Linked DNA regions of Homo sapiens: all the other regions are linked to region 3. Evidence: promoter capture Hi-C in 16 types of primary human blood cells and fetal thymus (Javierre and others, 2016). All regions are on one chromosome and are shown on one strand. Each heading gives the region's core, a stretch centred on a gene start or on the middle of the fragment in contact. The rest is flanking DNA. Distances are from core to core; before and after follow the strand shown. Region 1 has its middle 35 kb from the start of TMED3. Region 2 has its middle 53 kb from the start of TMED3. Region 3 holds the start of BCL2A1 (BCL2 related protein A1). Region 4 overlaps TMED3 (transmembrane p24 trafficking protein 3). Region 5 has its middle 23 kb from the start of MINAR1. Region 6 has its middle 42 kb from the start of MINAR1.

Region 1 (2,700 bases), core at 193-2,692, 630 kb after region 3:
TGCCAGTTTTCACAAAGAATCCTTCCATCTTCTGCCCATTAAGTATAATGTTGGCTGTGGGTTTGTCATAGATGGCTCTTATTATTTTGAGGTATTTTCCTTCAATACCTAGTTTACTAAGAGTTTTTAACATGAAGCAGTGTTGAATTTTATTGAAAGCCTTTTCTGCATCTCTTGAGATAATCATGTGGGTTTTTTGTCTTTAGTTCTGTTTATGTAATGAATCATGTTTATTGATTTGCATATGTTGAACAAACCTTGCATCCTAGGGGTAAAGCCTACTTGATCATGGTGGGTAAGCTTTTTGATGTGCTGCTGGATTCAGTTTGCCAGTATTTTGTTGAGGATTTTTGCACTGATGTTCATCTAGGAAATTGACCTGAAGTTTTCTTTATCTGTTGTGTCTCTGCCGTGTTTTGGTATCAGGATGATGTTGGCCTCAGAATGAATTAGGAAGGAGTCCCTCCTCCTTAAATTTTTGGAGTAGTTTTAGCAGAAATGCTACCAGATCGTCTTTGTACATCTGGTAGAATTCAGCTGTGGAATACTTCTGGTCCTGGGCTTTTTTGGTTAGTAGGCTATTTATTACTGGCTCAATTTCAGAGCTCATTATTGATGATGTTTCAAGTAAGGCCACACACATACAACTATCAGGTCTTCTACAAACCTGATAAAAACAAGCAATGAGGAAAGGATTCCCCATTCAATAAATGGTGCTGGGAGAATTCGCTAGCCATAGGCAGGAGATTGAAACTGGACCCCTTCCTTACACCATATACAAAAATCAATTCAAGATGGAATAAAGACTTAAATGGAAAACCCAAAACTATAAAAACCTGATTAGTTTGTTCTCATGCTGCTAATAAGGATGTACTCAAGACTGGGTAATTTATAAAGAAAAAGAGGTTTAATGAACTCACAGTTCCCATGGCTCAGGAGGCCTCACAATCATGGTGGAAGGTGAAAGAGGAGCAAAGGCACATATATATGGTGGCAGGTAAGAGAGCATGTGCAGGGGTACTGCCCTTTATAAAACCATCAGATCTTGTGAGACTTATTCACTATCATGAGAACAGGATGGTGGGAATAGCCCCCATGATTCAATTATGTCCACCTGGTCCCTCCCACGACACATGGGAATTATGGGATCTACAATTTAAAATGAGATTTGGGTGGGGACACAAAGTCTAACCATATCAAAACCCTATAAGACAACCTAGGCAATACCATTCTGGACATAGGAACAGGCAAAACTTCATGACAAAGACACCAAAAGCAATTGTAACAAAAGCAAAAACTGACAAATGGGATCTAATTAAACTAAAGAGCTTCTGCACAGCAGAGGAAACTATCAACAGAGTGAAGAGCCAACCTACAGAATGGGAGAAAATTTTTGCAAACTATGCATCTGACAAAGGTCTAACTCCAGCATCTATAAAGAACTTAAACAAATTTACAAGAAAAAATACAAACAACTCCATTAAGAAGCGGGAAAATGACATAAACAGATACTTTTCAAAAGAAGGCATACACGTGGCCAACAATCTTATAAAAAAGAGCTCAACATCACTGATGATTACAGAAATGCAAATCAAAACCATGAGAAGATGTCATCTTACACCAGTCAGAATGGCTATTAGTAAAAGGGAAAAAATAACAGATGCTAGTGAGGTTGTGGAGAAAAAGGAATGCTTATACACTGGTGGTGGGAATGTAAATTAGTTCAACCATTGTGGAAGACAGTGTGATGATTCCTCAAAGACCTATAAGCAGAAATATTATTTGACCCAGCAATCCCACTACTGGGCATATACCCAAAGGAATATAAATTGTTTCGTTATAAAGACACATGTATGTGTATATTCATTGCAGCACTACTCACAATAGCAAAGACATGGAATCAACAACCTAAATGCCCACCAATAATAGACTGGATAAAGAAAATGTGGTACATATAAACCATGGAATACTATGCAGCCAGAAAAAGAACAAGATCATGTCATTTGCAGGAACACGGATGGAGCTGGAGGTCATTATCCTTAGCAAACTAATGCAGAAACAGAAAACCAAATACTGCATGTTCTCACTTATAAGTGAGAGCTAAATGATGAGAACACATGGACACATAAAGGGGAACAACACACTATGGCCTATCAGAGGGTGAAGGGTGGGAAGGGAGAGGATCAGGAAAAATAACTAATGGGTACTAGGCTTAATATCTGGGTGATGAAATAATCTGTACAACAAACCCCCATGACACCAGTGTACCTATGTAACAAACCTGCACATGTACCCCTGAACTTAAAAGTTAATAAAAAATAAAGTAAATAAATTTTTAAAAAGAGCTTTCTATTTTTCTTCCCTGTCTGGATCTTTGGCCCAGTCTTTCTATTGAGTTGGTGGTCCTCTTCTTCCTGATTGGTAGCTCTCTATATTTATATGTCTTTCATTGTCCCCCTGTTTTCTCTCTTTCTGTGAGCATTTCCATTAAATTCCCATATGCTGCTCTGTCTCTCAAATTATAAAACAAAAACAGTCTCTTCCACATCTCCTTCCGGCTACTGCTCAAACACAGCAAAGCTTTAAAGTTAAACTCCTATAAAACATTGTCTCCCTTTCACACTGCCTCATCTCACTGGGCTCACTACAGTGAAGTCTTTGCCTCCAATGTTTCGTACAAATTACTCTTGTTAAGTCACC
Region 2 (2,700 bases), core at 130-2,629, 610 kb after region 3:
TGCATTACAGTGTGCCCTTTTAGCCCTGCCATCCGCAGACAGCTTAAGTGTTAATCAGTTCAATGGACCCTCTGCCTTTTTGCAAGGGCAGAGGGCCGGTGTGACACCTTTCTGTATCCCAAGCTCTTTCCCAGTGTCCTGGAAGAATCAAGTCACACATGGGCTTGAAGGATGAATGTGGGGTTTTACTGGGTGGTGGAGGTGGCTCTCAGAGGGATGGATGGGGAGCTGGGAGGATGCAGTGAGAGGATGATCTGCCCCTAGAGTTTGGCCATCCAGTGGCCAAACTCCTCTCTGACAGCCCCCAGCTGAACTCCTCTCGGTGTTCAGACATTCCTCCTCTTCTCTCTTTCTCTGCTGTGTCGTTCCACCATTCATCTGCGTGTTTCATCTCCTCATCTGCTTGTCTGCTCCTGGAACCTGGGGTTCAGGGTTTATATGGGTGCAGGATCGGGGCATGGCAGGCCAAAAGACAACTTTTTGGGAATGAAAACAGAAATGCCTGTTCCCACTTAGGGCCATGGGGCTCCAGGCTCGAGGGGTGGGGCCTTTGCTGGGGAACCGACCTCTTCTACCCAGTATTTCTCTGTCTCCTATCCGTATCAAAAGGAGTTAGCCAGCTTGCTTTAGGCAGACAGTAAAGAAAGAGCCCCCGGAGAACCTCCGACCTGGCCCACAAGTGCTTACACCAGATATTTTATGCATATAAGGGAACTTGCACAGGGGGCTTGCTTAAACATGCCCGCAGGGGACTAAGAGCCCACATGCACACTGGGGGAATGGGGGTGGAGCCACCAGGAATTCGTGCCTTATACAAATAGGGAACCCAGTCCCATCAGCTTCTATATAAAAAGCCTTTGTATTCAACTGTGAAGGGCCAACCGGCAACCTGCTTTTCAGGACCCCTCTCTTTGCTGAGAGCTTTCCTTTTGCTTAAAAAATACTACTCCACTCACTCTATGGTGTCCGCATGCCTAATTTTTCCTGGTTGTGAGACAAGAACCTGGACCTAGCTGAGCTAAAGGAGCAAAAATCCTGCATTATATTGATTTATGCCTTTGGCTGTAATCTCTGCCTCTCCGACTTAAAAAACCCTTACCTGTAAGACATCGGAGAGTTTGGATCTTAAGCATGAGCCTCCCGATTCTCCTTGCTTGGCACCCTGTAGTAAAGGCCGTACTTTGTCTTGCTGCGATCCCGGTGTCAGTGTTGAGCTTTGCTGCACCAGGTGGGTGGACCCAAGTTCGGTTTGGTAACAATGGAAAGGAGTTTAGAGTACAAAAATAATCAAATCTGCCTTTGCTTTACGTTAAAACTGGAGAAAATTAACAATTTCCTTTTAAAAGTATTGTTTTGCTGCTCAGTTGTAAACTGTAATTGTTTTAGTAAAAATATTATATATCATCAAATAGGGTGAAGTCACTTTCATATACTCATCAGCCATTTGTGTTTCCTTTGTGAATGACTTGTTTCTCTCTTTGGCTGTCATTTTTCACTTGGAGATTTTTTTTTTTTTTTTTTTGAGTCATTGTAGTTCTTTGTCACTTGGAGTTTTAAAAAGCAAATTATAAGCATTCCTTAAATATAAAGTCACTGGCCATTTCTTTGTGATACAGTATGCAAGGATTTTTCCTGGTTTGCTGTTTGTCATTTTTTATATTTGATATACAGAAGTTTTACAAGTTTTTAGTCTGGTCTATTAATCTGTTCTTATAATTTCTACCTTTGTTGTATGATTAGAAAGTTCTTTCTGAAATAAAGGATGTGTAAATAACAATTACCTATATTTTCTGTTGTGTGCAGTTTTTTAAACATTCAAATCCACCTGGAATTTGTGTTCATATATGATACAAGACATAAAACTATTTTTTCAAATAGTTACCTAATTATTCCTAATCTATTTATTCACTAGTCCATTGTTTCCCTCTGACATAAACTTTTCTCATCTAATGAATTACTGTGTATACCTGCATCTGATTCTGGACTGCTGTGTTTTGTCAGTCAGTCTACCCCTAATCAAACAATTTTCATACTGTAACTTGGAAATGCTACATTATCTGATAGCACACATTATCTTATCCCTCTTTTTTGTTTTTAGAATGTTTGCAATTATTCTTGTATTAGTCTGTTCTCATGCTGCTAATAAAGATATACCTGAGACTGGGTAATTTAAAAAGAAAAGAGATTTAATGGACTCACAGTTCCACATGGCTGGGGAGGCCTCACAATCATGGCAGAAGACAGAGGAAGAGCAAAGTCACATCTTACATGGCAGCAGGCAGAGATAAGAGTGCATGTGCAGGGAACTCCCATTTATAAAACCATCAGATCTCATGAGACTTAATCACTATCATGAGGACAGCACAGGAAAAACCTGCCCCCATGATTCAATTACCTCCAACCAGGTCCCTCCCATGACACTTGGGGATTATTACAATTCAAGCTGAGATTTGGGTGAGGACACAGAGCCAAACCATATCAATTCTTATACATAAATAAATATTTTATATTAACTTTTAATTTTTATTTAAACTTTTTTTAGAGACAGAGTCCCACTCTGTCACCCAGGCTGGAGTGCAGTGGCATGATGAAGGCTCATACAGCCTCAACCTCCCAGGCTCAAGAAATCCTACCACCTCAGCCTCCTGAGTAGCTGGAACTCAGGAAGACTGAGTAGCTGGACAGGCATGCCACCACCTG
Region 3 (2,700 bases), core at 111-2,610:
CCCAAAGTGCTGGGATTACAGGGGTGAGCCACCGTGCCTGGCCCAAAGAGGGTATTTTTTTCTTCCCTCTCGGTATCATCCTTACTCAATTACAAATGATCAAGGGCGGTACTGCCAGAGTCACCTCGAGAGGCCCTGTTCTCTGCCACCCAGGCTGTTTTGTAGTCTCCATTCCAAATTGTCGTTACTCCGGTTTACCCCGTGGATGGCGTTTAAGACTTTTCTTAAATTTGAAATTCACAGAACCATTTTAAAGTGAACAATTCAGTGGCATTTAGTACCTTCGCAGTGTTGTGCAACTTCCACCTCTATCTAGCTGCAAAACATTTTCTTTTCTTTTTTTTTTTGGAGACAGAGTCTCGCTCTGTTGCCCAGACTGGAGTGCAGTGGCGTGATCTTGGCTCACTGCAACTTCTGTCTCCCGGGTTCAAGCAATTCTCCTGCCTCAGCCTCCCGAGTAGCTGGGATTACAGGCACACGCCACCCGCCTGGCTAATTTTTTGTATTTTAGTACAGACGGGGATTTACCATATTGCCCAGGCTGGTCTCAAACTCCTGAGCTCAGGCAATCCGCCCGCCTTGTCCTCCCAAAGTGCTAGGATTACAGGCGTGAGCCAACGCGGCCGGCCTTGTAAAACATTTTCATCACACAAAAGAAAACCTTCTACCCATTAAGCAGTTACTCCTTCCTCTTCTCAGCCCCTGTCAACCACCAATTTGCTTTCTATCCTATGGATTTAACTGTCTGGATATTTCATAGAAATAGAATCACATAATGTATGACCTTTTCTGTTTGGCTTCTTTCTATTAGCCTAATGTTTTTGAGGTTCATTCCTGTTGAAGCATGTATCAGTTCTTCATTCCTTTTTTGGGATGAATAATGTTCCATAATTTATTTATCCTTTCGTCTGTTGATGAACATTTGAGTTGTGTCCACATCTTGGCTATTGTGAATAGTGCTGCCATGTACATTCGTATGTAAGTATTTGAGTATCTGTTGGGTGTATACCTATGAATGGAATTGCTGGGTCTTTTGACAATTCTGTATTTAACTTTTTGAGAAACTGCCAACATTTTCACAGGGGTTGTACCATTTCACATTCCCACCAGCAATCTACAAGGATTCTAATTTCTCCACATCCTGCATTTAAGACTTGCAAAGCTGAATTAATCACAGGATGAGGAAGTGGCTTCTCTGAAACATTTTCCTCTTTCACATTTTAAACTTTCTCTTTCATACATGACATGAAACACAGCCTACGCACGAAAGTGACTAGGAGGAAGGATATTATAAAGTGATGCAAACAGAAATTCCACCAGCCTCCATGTATCATCATGTGTCATAACTCAGTCAAGCTCAGTGAGCATTCTCAGCACATTGCCTCAACAGCTTCAAGGTGAGCCAGCTCAAGACTTTGCTCTCCACCAGGCAGAAGATGACAGACTGTGAATTTGGATATATTTACAGGCTGGCTCAGGACTATCTGCAGTGCGTCCTACAGATACCACAACCTGGATCAGGTCCAAGCAAAACGTCCAGAGTGCTACAAAATGTTGCGTTCTCAGTCCAAAAAGAAGTGGAAAAGAATCTGAAGTCATGCTTGGACAATGTTAATGTTGTGTCCGTAGACACTGCCAGAACACTATTCAACCAAGTGATGGAAAAGGAGTTTGAAGACGGCATCATTAACTGGGGAAGAATTGTAACCATATTTGCATTTGAAGGTATTCTCATCAAGAAACTTCTACGACAGCAAATTGCCCCGGATGTGGATACCTATAAGGAGATTTCATATTTTGTTGCGGAGTTCATAATGAATAACACAGGAGAATGGATAAGGCAAAACGGAGGCTGGGTATGTGTGATGGAAAAATTCTTCATTGTTCTTTCCTGTGAAATAGAAATTGAGAATTTCCTTGCTAGTTAAAACAACAACAAAACACTTTACCTAAGAATACTATTTTCCTTGGGTGGTTTGTTTTAATTTTTAAAATAAAAATATACTTTCTGGCTTATTTCCAATGAATCCTTGAACTTGAACTTTATAGTTGGAAAGCACTTATGTTTTCAGTTTTTATTCTTAACAGTATAAATTACAGTAGTGAGCTTTGGGGATTAATAAAGCACCTCTCTCATGCAGCTTCACAATCAGCTGTGCACACACTCTAATCTAGTACTTAGCTTTTGCTAGGGTTGTCATGACAGTACAGACAGTACAGAAATTTCTACAATCAGCACAGAAAGTTGCTATCAGATGCTGTTATTTTTAGGTATTTATGGGTTGCAAAAGACAGGTGTAAATTTTTGTAAGTTCATCGCTTACAAATTGGTGTTTTTCAGTTTACTAATACATAATAAATAGTAACATATATTAATATATAGCAAATTACATTACATATAATATATAACACATTATTACTAATAATAAATTCCGGGCTGTTAAAGTTTGTTGATTAAAACATAATATACTGTATGACCAGCAAGAACCTTTATTCAAGAATTTTCAAATAAAAATTTACTTTATTATCAGTGCCTAAAAAAGCCAAGACTATGTAGAGGCCTGTGTTGAAACTCATGTTGGTAAAAAGCCTGACACAGCTGGATGTATATGGTTTCCTTTATATTCCAATATACTTAATAATTATTTTTTTAAAGCACTTAAGTGTTCATTGATCCTCTCTCCAACGGCCTTCACCTCT
Region 4 (2,700 bases), core at 148-2,647, 650 kb after region 3:
GTGACATCCTCTATCCTCTATTATTTTGGGCTACATATCATCTTTCACAACTGGAGTGTAGTCAGCATTGGACTTCTTCACTTCCCTGCATTTGGTAGGTGGGCTATACCTGCAGACATTTGATATTGAAAAAGGAACAAATGATCCTAAGAAGGGTTCCAGACATCAGGAAGTTGACTCCAAAGGGAACTTCCAAAGCCAACTGGCTTCAAAGGCCAACCACCAGAAAAGAAAGCTCAGGTGTAGGCCTCTGCACTGGGGACAATGGTCGCATTTGTGGTTGCTCCTCCTAGCTCTCCGGGGAATGCTTCCAAAGCTCACTAAAGCATGTCAGCTGTCACAGATGGAACAGGACACTAAACTGGGAAGGAAGCAGGAAAGAGGTCAATGTGGAGTCGGGCTTAACCTATGTGAACCTGTGTCAAAGCTAACTCAAGATATGCCATTTCTAGAAGCCTCCCTAGTGCTCCCTGCCAGGCACTACCTATACAGGCAGACTTGGTAACACAAATCCGTTCTGTATTTACATCACCCTGGTGATCCCTGGAAAATCACAAAGGATTGAAGGTGGGGCTGGGGGACTCAGGATAGACACTTGTAGGATGAGGTTACAAGGATTTCAAATCATGGCTGAGTTTGAATAGCTCACACTTCCACTAATTCCTTCATTCAAACATTTACTCAATGCTTACTTTCCTTCCAGGCACTGTGCTAGGCCCAGGGAATTAAGAATCAGAGCCAGACACAGTCCTGGGTCTCAGAAAGTTCCCAATTTAAAGAAAAAATTACTCAACTAGAATGCAGTATAAACAGCCAACAACAGAAGGGTATGCAGAGCGGCAGGAACACCCCAGGAGAAAGATGCTGAGCCTGCCAGAGAAGATGGAGTACTTGACATGGGACACGACAAGCTGAGCCCTGATGGATGGGCAGGACGTCACCAGGCTGAGAACACATCCCAAGCAGCAGAAGCACAGGCAAAGAACTGTACAGGGCCTGGTCTGGGATCAGGGACTGACATGGTGATGGGGATGCGTGGAGAAGCAGCTGTGGGGAGGTGGAAGCTCACAGTAAAGGGCCTCGAGGTCCAAGACTTTATCGTGTGGCTCTGTGAGCAGAAGATTGGCAAGATCGGAATCCCACTTTACGAGAATCTGCCTCTGGCAGCTATGATGCAGAAAGGGATGTATGCGAACCAGTTTAGAGGCAGGGAAACCACTTAGGTGGCTGCAATTCTACTGGGAAGAGAAGATGCAGGCCTCGGTTAAGAAGGTCGCCATGTCAGGGAAGAGTGGACTGGAGGGAAATTGATGGCACTGAAATCACAGGACTTCATAACAAAGTGGATCATTCTTGAAATCAGTGGGAGGGATGGAGACACACACATAAGTGTATACATGTATGTATCATGGTCATAGGTAGTATATGTGTATATGTATGTGTGGCACACACACATATGTATTCATATGTACACATATGCATACATGTTTGTATGTACAAATCCGCAGAGAACACTGTGGAAGGGCTCATTTGATTTTCCAGGCTATAATTCCATTCTCCAAGTTTATGTGTCACAAACTCATTCAGAAACAAAGTGTACAACTAGACTCACTTGACTGGGGACTCCTTGGACCGTAGGCCCTGGCCTGGGAATTCAGCAGTACTGGTCAGCATCTCCAGCCTTCTCCCAGGACCCAGAGTCACTGGAGAGGAAGGAGGAAGGGAAAAAGAAGAGGGAGGACACAGAAATCACAGGTGTAGACACCAAGACAGAGGATGAGTCAGATATTTATGTGAAGCATCACTTTAAAGGCCTAGATCCAGCGACACAGGCCAGAAACCGGCACGGAGACTGCATGAAGAGGCCTCGTGGCCTTTAAAGGAACAATCTCAGATCAGATCAGTGATAGCAAAGGGACCAGTTCCAAGAGGGTAACGGAGCAACAGGTGATACTCTACAGCTTTCTTGGCAACTAACACCTGCAGACGCCTTCAGGACCTTGCACAGACGCTGCAAGAGACCCCAGAGCAATACATCCCCGAGAATCATCCCCAAGAATCACAGCTACCTGGATGCTCACCCTCACCACAAAAACATGCTACTTCCCCATCCGCTGAGATCTTCAGTTAGTGCTCATCTAAAGCAAACTTGTTCAGCCTGTTACCACAAAATTTCAGTTAGGCAGTCCCTCAGCCAGCTTCCCACCCAGCAGAAAACCAACAGAACCCCTCTGTTTTCAGGGTCCTGTTTTTCCAGGCCACGAGTCCCCAGGTCTCCTCGTGTGTGACCTTCCGCCCTGCTAAGACCACCAGTCCTGGCTGGCTTCCAGTGTCCTGGAGCCTCACAGGGATTATAGTTGCCACTTCATGGTGACTGTCGGTCTCTAGGACACCCTGACCCATCCCACCTCTGGCACCATCCCTTTCCTCCATCTCCACGCTGACATCCCATCCTGTCCCAGCCACCAGCGGATGCCGAGGTCTTCAGTCTGTAACCACTGACAAATTCCTGCAGCCCTCACCTCATCAGGCCTCCCCTGACCCAAGTATCTGCTTCTTCAAATTCTTCAAGAACTCAAAGACAGGGAAGTAGAAGCTGGCATCAGAGCACTTAAGAAAACCTTTAATCCTTCCTAGATCACCAGGGAGGTAGCTCTTGGCCTTTGACCTCTGTCAGAAACCTTCAGCTCTGACCAGGAT
Region 5 (2,700 bases), core at 9-2,508, 560 kb after region 3:
TGCAACTATTTCTTCCCGCATACCTTAAGTGATTAAATAAAATGATCAGTTCTGGAATTCTGAAAATTTCTTTGCTATTGCTAATTATGAGCAACCAGCATGTTTCTTGTTCTCGGGTTACAAATCAGTAAGACAAATATAAAGAGAATGCTTTGACATCAGGGGTCAAAAGACACATAAAACACTATCGTATAGATGTGACATTCCTGTCAATATATTTTCATTAAAAAGGCAGGACATGTTTCTGGAAATGTATTGTGATAGACTTGGGAAATTATAATTTAGATTGAAGCACTTGCAAATCATTGCTTCTGAGAGGTTGCTGCCAACTTTCATAATTTTATTTTTCCTTTATCCTGGGCTGTTATTCATATACATGCATCTACGAGAATGTATATATATATATATATACACACACACATATACACATATATATATTTCACATGTATCTTATTTTTTTCCACAATTTAAAGCTTAAACACCTATGGGAAATCTTCAAGGAATATTTTGTAGGTCCCCAATAGCAGTCATTTCCTGTTAAATTAAGCTGGTGATGGAATTTACTGTATTACCTAAACCAATTTTCATCCAGTTGCAGTGAACATCCTGTCTGGCATGCTGGCTGCCTTTGTGATAGTTGTGCTCTTTTGCTGGCCACATCACAGCTGCCCCTCCAAGTGCTCTCCCCAATTAGGAAGATGCAATTAGATGACAGCGTCACCCTCTCCTATACTGTCAGTAATAAGGAACAGATGCTTCATTCCGATGGGAAAAATTGGGTCTTTTCACAATTATTAATATCCTGAATTAGAATGGGTTGCTTTGTCATTTTACCTAGTTTTCTATGAATCTATAATATTTAATGTCTTGTTTATTTAACCATGAGGCTGATAAAGAAAGGGAACACTATAAACCATTCTAAGCATATAGAATTATGGGCTATGTTTCTGGAAGGAAATATATAAACCTCCCAGGCCTATGAACTTATTTTTCATTTTAAACAATTATTTACTTAATGAATAGGTGGCATATGTGTGCGGCGTAAAATTCATCGGGTATGAAAGGAGCATAGGGTGTAGTGAAAAGTACCAATCCAATCTAGTATACCTCTTATCTAAACTCAGCACAAAATTTCCTAAAATGGATCTTCGGGTATTAGTTTACCCCTCTACAGGGGCAACTAAGGTTACCAATTTCTTCTGTATCCTCTAGCTTATTTTACAGTTCAGGAAAATTGGGCTCAGAACAGCAAAATGATTAATCTACAGTCACATGGCAAGTTGTTTGCTGCAGCCAAACTAGAACCTTGGCCTCTTCACTATTAACAAAATTTCACCCATAATACATAGCTGTCACTCGGCTCCAGGCAAACCAAAGGCATTCTTTTCTTACAATACGAACCAAAACTTTCTAATAAGAGCAGAAGGCTGAGGAAAACATTCAGACAAAGTGCTTTTATTTGGTTGAATGGTCAATAAAGAACACAGAATATTCTTTTTAAAAGAGATGTATAAGAAATCTATTCCAACGACCTTATTTTACACATGAAGAAATTAAGGCTCACACTGGGAAACAATTGTCCAGCAAATTAATGTTAGCGGGCCCATTTGCATGAACTCTGAGCAGTGTTTGTGACTTTGCAAATGGAATACGGGTCCTCCCTTGCCCCACCTCCAATCATTACCTCTTGGTTCCCCTGCCTATATCTGGGGCATTGTGGCTGTGTTATACTGGAAAATGCAGGAGCGCATTGATTTCCTATAATGGTTTTATCTATAGAAATTTGTGAGGACATCCTTTGGTTGGAAGATTGGCACTGAATATCTGAAAGTGCCAAATTGAACTGAGAAGGAGTGTTCCAAAGTAGTGCCTCAAATGAACCTTTGCTCATCAAGAAAAGTCTCTCTCTGCACTTGCAGACTGTAACTCCTCGACCTGTCCTTATAGGATGCATCCTGCAGTTGGAAATGTGTTGCCAGGCATTAAAGACTTCTTGTTGCCCTCTTAGTAATGCAGGTTATAGGCTTCAGGAATATAAGCTTCAGGTTTTAGGCTTCAGAAAAGCAATCATGGAATCAAGCTTTTGAGAGAAGCTCTGTACTTAAATTAACAAAGAAATCTATATTGAGTCAAGTTTTCTTGTATCTTTCTAATTTAAGTTGTATTAGGACAATGTAATTACAGAGACCAAAAGAGAGATTCACAGTGAGATAAAAATGTGAATACAGAGAAGCCGTGGGCCCTTCTTCTCTGCCCTGGGAAAGATGCTATACCTTTAAAATACTTCATGTGGTACTTCTATGCCCTTCCTCTTTTGAATCGCACAAGGCTGGGAGGCAGGAATTCTCACCACTTGCATTTTAAAGGTGAGAAAAATGAAACCCTAGAGAGGTCAAGTGATTTATGCAAAGCCACACAGCACAGAATTGACCATCCCAGATCTGGACCCTGGGTTTCTGGCTTCCAGGGGCCATTCTCTCTGAGTTCTCCCCACACCTCTCTTCCCACTCCTTCTCTGTCTCCGTGGCTCAATTCTTTCCTCCTCTCACTCACATTTAGGCATCCCTGAAGTTTCTCTCTGGGGCTGACTTCTCTTTTCTCCTTCAAATGATGTCATTAAAATACCTCTTACAGCTTTAAATATCACTTCCTTGCAGATGCCCTATGGCTCCGACCACCTCGGGAGTCAGTGTCTTAAGC
Region 6 (2,700 bases), core at 183-2,682, 580 kb after region 3:
TGCTCTCAGACCACAGTGGAATAAAACTGGAAATCAACTCCAAAAGGAACCTTCAAAATTATGAAAATACACATAAATCAGATAACCTGCTCCTGAGTGATCACTGGGTCAAAAACAAAATCAAGATGGAAATTGAAAAATTCTTCAAACTGAACAACAATAATGACAAAACCTATCAAAGGTGTGGCTAAGAAGAAAGTCTGTGGCCCTAAACACCTACATCAAAAAGACTGAAAGAGCACAAACTGACATTCTAACTGACATCCACACCTGAAGAAACTAGAGAAACAAGAACAAACCAAACTCAAACCCAGCAGAAGAAAGGAAATAACCAGGATCAGAGCAGAACTAAATGAAATTGAAATGAAAAAAAAAATACAAAAGATAAATGAAACAAAAAGCTGGTTCTTTGAAAAGATGAATAGAATTGATAGACCATTAGCAAGATTAACCAAGAAAAGAGGAGAGAAAATCCAAATAACCTCAATAATAAATGAAATGGGAGACATTAGAACTGACACCACAGAAATATAAAAGATGGTTCAAGGCTACTATGAACACCTTTATGTACATAAACTAGAAAACCTAGAAGAGATGGATAAATTCCTGGAAAAATACAACCCTCCTAATTTAAATTAGGAAGAAATAGATACCCTGAACAGACCAATAACAAGCAGTGAGATTGAAATGGTAACTTAAAAATTAAAAAAAAAGTCCAAAACCACATGGATTCACCGCAGAATTCTACCAGACATTCAAAGAAGAATTGGTACCAATCCTTTTGACACTCTTCCACAACACAGAGAAACAGGGAACCCTCCCTAATTCATTCTATGGAGCCGTATCACCCTAATGCCAAACCAGGAAAGGACTTAACCAAAAAAGGTAGCTACAGACTGATATCCCTGATGAACATAGATGCTAAAATCCTTAACAAAATACTAGCTAACGAATCCAACAACATATCAAAAAGATAATCCACCATGATCAAGTGGGTTTCATACTGGGGATGCAGGGATGGTTTAACATACGCAAGTCAATAAATGTGATACGCCAGATAAACAGAATTAAAAACAAAAATCACATGATCATCTCAACAGATGGAGAAAAAAGCATTTGACAAAATCCATCATTGCTTCATGATTATAACTCTCAGCAAAATCAGCATACAAGTGACATAGCTCAATGTAATAAAAGCCGTCCATGACAAATCCACAGCCAACATAATACTGAATAGGGAAAAGTTGAAAGCATTCCCTCTGAGAACTGGAACAAGATAGGGAAGCCCACTCTCACCATTCTTCCCTAACGTAGTACTGGAAGTCCTAGCCAGAGCAATCAGACAAGAGAAAGAAATAAAGGGCACCCAAATCAGTAAAGAGGAAGTCAAACTGTCACTGTTTGCTGATTATATGATTGTTTACCTAGAAAACCCTAAAGACTCCTCCAGAAAGTTCCTAGAATGGATAAAGGAATTCAACAAAGGTTCTGGATACAAGATTAATGTACACAGATCAGTAGCTCTTCTATACACCAACAGCAACCAAGTGGAGAATCGAATCAAGAACTCAACCCCTTTTATGACAGTTGCAAAAACAAAACAAAACTTAGGAATATACCCAACTAAGGAGGCAAAAGACCTCTACAAGAAAAACTAAACACTGCTGAAAGACACCACAGATGACATCAAAAAATGGAAACACATCCCATGCTCATGGATGGGTGGAATCAATATTGTGAAAACGACCATACTGCCAAAAACAATATACAAATTCAACACAATCCCCATTAAAATACCACCATCATTCTTCACAGAATTAGAGAACACAATTCTAAAATTCATATGGAACCAAACAAGAGCCCACATAGCCAACACAAGACTTAGCAAAAAGAAAAAGTCTGGAGGCATCACACTACCTGATTTCAAACTATACTATAAGCCCATAATCACCAAAAATAACATGGTACTGGTATAAAAACAGGCACATAGGCCAATGGAACAGAATAGAGAACCCGGAAATAAACCCAAATACTTACAGACAACTGATCTTCGACAAAGCAAACAAAAACTTAAAGTGGGGAAAGGACACCCTTTTCAACAAATGGTGCTGGAATAATTGGCTAGCCACATGTAGGAGAATGAAACTGGATCCTCACTTCTCACCATATACAAAAATCGACTCCAGATGGATTAAGGACTTAAATCTAAGACCTGAAACTATAAAAATTCTAGAAGACAACATTGGAAAAGCCCGTCTAGACATTGGCTTAGGCAAGGATTTTATGACCAAGAACCCAAAGGCAAATGCAATAAAAACAAAGATAAATAGCTGGGACTTAATTAAACTAAATAGCTTTTGCACAGCAAAAGGAACAGTCAGCAGAGTAAATAGACGACCCACAGAGTGGGAGAAATTCTTCACAATCTATACATCTAACGAAGGACTAATATCCAGAATCTACAACAAACTCAAACAAATCAGTAAGAAAAAAAACAATCTCATCAAAAAGTGGGCTAAGGACATGAATAGATAATTCTCAAAAGAAGATATACAAATGGCTTGCAAACATAGAAAAAATACTTAACATCACTAATGATCAGGGAAATGCAAATCGAAACCCAATGTGATACCACCTTACTCCTGCAAGAATGGCCATAATCTAAACACCAAAAAACAGTATATGTTGGTGGGGATGTGG

Evidence for each region. Contacts are between HindIII fragments. The CHiCAGO score rates a contact against its expected background, and 5 or more counts as called.
Region 1: a fragment that was not itself captured here is called in contact with the fragment with the promoter of BCL2A1 in region 3 in 2 of 17 cell types (megakaryocytes and endothelial precursors); the score reaches 6.6 in megakaryocytes.
Region 2: a contact is called between a fragment that was not itself captured here and the fragment with the promoter of BCL2A1 in region 3, in 2 of 17 cell types (naive CD8 T cells and naive CD4 T cells). The highest score is 8.6, in naive CD8 T cells.
Region 4: a contact is called between a fragment that was not itself captured here and the fragment with the promoter of BCL2A1 in region 3, in 2 of 17 cell types (naive CD4 T cells and total CD8 T cells). The highest score is 5.9, in naive CD4 T cells.
Region 5: a contact is called between a fragment that was not itself captured here and the fragment with the promoter of BCL2A1 in region 3, in 3 of 17 cell types (naive CD4 T cells, total CD4 T cells and naive B cells). The highest score is 6.5, in naive CD4 T cells.
Region 6: a fragment that was not itself captured here is called in contact with the fragment with the promoter of BCL2A1 in region 3 in 4 of 17 cell types (total CD4 T cells, total B cells, naive B cells and 1 more); the score reaches 6.3 in total CD4 T cells.

Annotation. Positions count from the first base shown.
Region 1 is chr15:79,344,771-79,347,470 of GRCh38, reverse strand. It overlaps a transcript of TMED3 not described here. Among named protein-coding and RNA genes, the nearest start is that of TMED3, 35 kb to the right of the region's middle. The HindIII fragment of the contact is 2,280 bases long and covers 303-2,582 here.
Region 2 is chr15:79,362,326-79,365,025 of GRCh38, reverse strand. It overlaps a transcript of TMED3 not described here. Among named protein-coding and RNA genes, the nearest start is that of TMED3, 53 kb to the right of the region's middle. The HindIII fragment of the contact is 3,282 bases long and covers 1-2,700 here.
Region 3 is chr15:79,969,856-79,972,555 of GRCh38, reverse strand. BCL2A1 (BCL2 related protein A1) reads left to right here and starts at 1,360. Exons shown (of 2, transcript NM_004049.4): 1 at 1,360-1,856. The coding sequence starts at 1,437. RefSeq lists an enhancer at 737-1,936. The HindIII fragment of the contact is 17,831 bases long and covers 1-2,700 here.
Region 4 is chr15:79,316,366-79,319,065 of GRCh38, reverse strand. All of the region lies in intron 2 of TMED3 (transmembrane p24 trafficking protein 3), which reads right to left. Among named protein-coding and RNA genes, the nearest start is that of TMED3, 6.6 kb to the right of the region's middle. The HindIII fragment of the contact is 3,346 bases long and covers 1-2,700 here.
Region 5 is chr15:79,408,410-79,411,109 of GRCh38, reverse strand. It overlaps a transcript of TMED3 not described here. Among named protein-coding and RNA genes, the nearest start is that of MINAR1, 23 kb to the left of the region's middle. The HindIII fragment of the contact is 1,566 bases long and covers 476-2,041 here.
Region 6 is chr15:79,388,735-79,391,434 of GRCh38, reverse strand. It overlaps a transcript of TMED3 not described here. Among named protein-coding and RNA genes, the nearest start is that of MINAR1, 42 kb to the left of the region's middle. The HindIII fragment of the contact is 5,671 bases long and covers 1-2,700 here.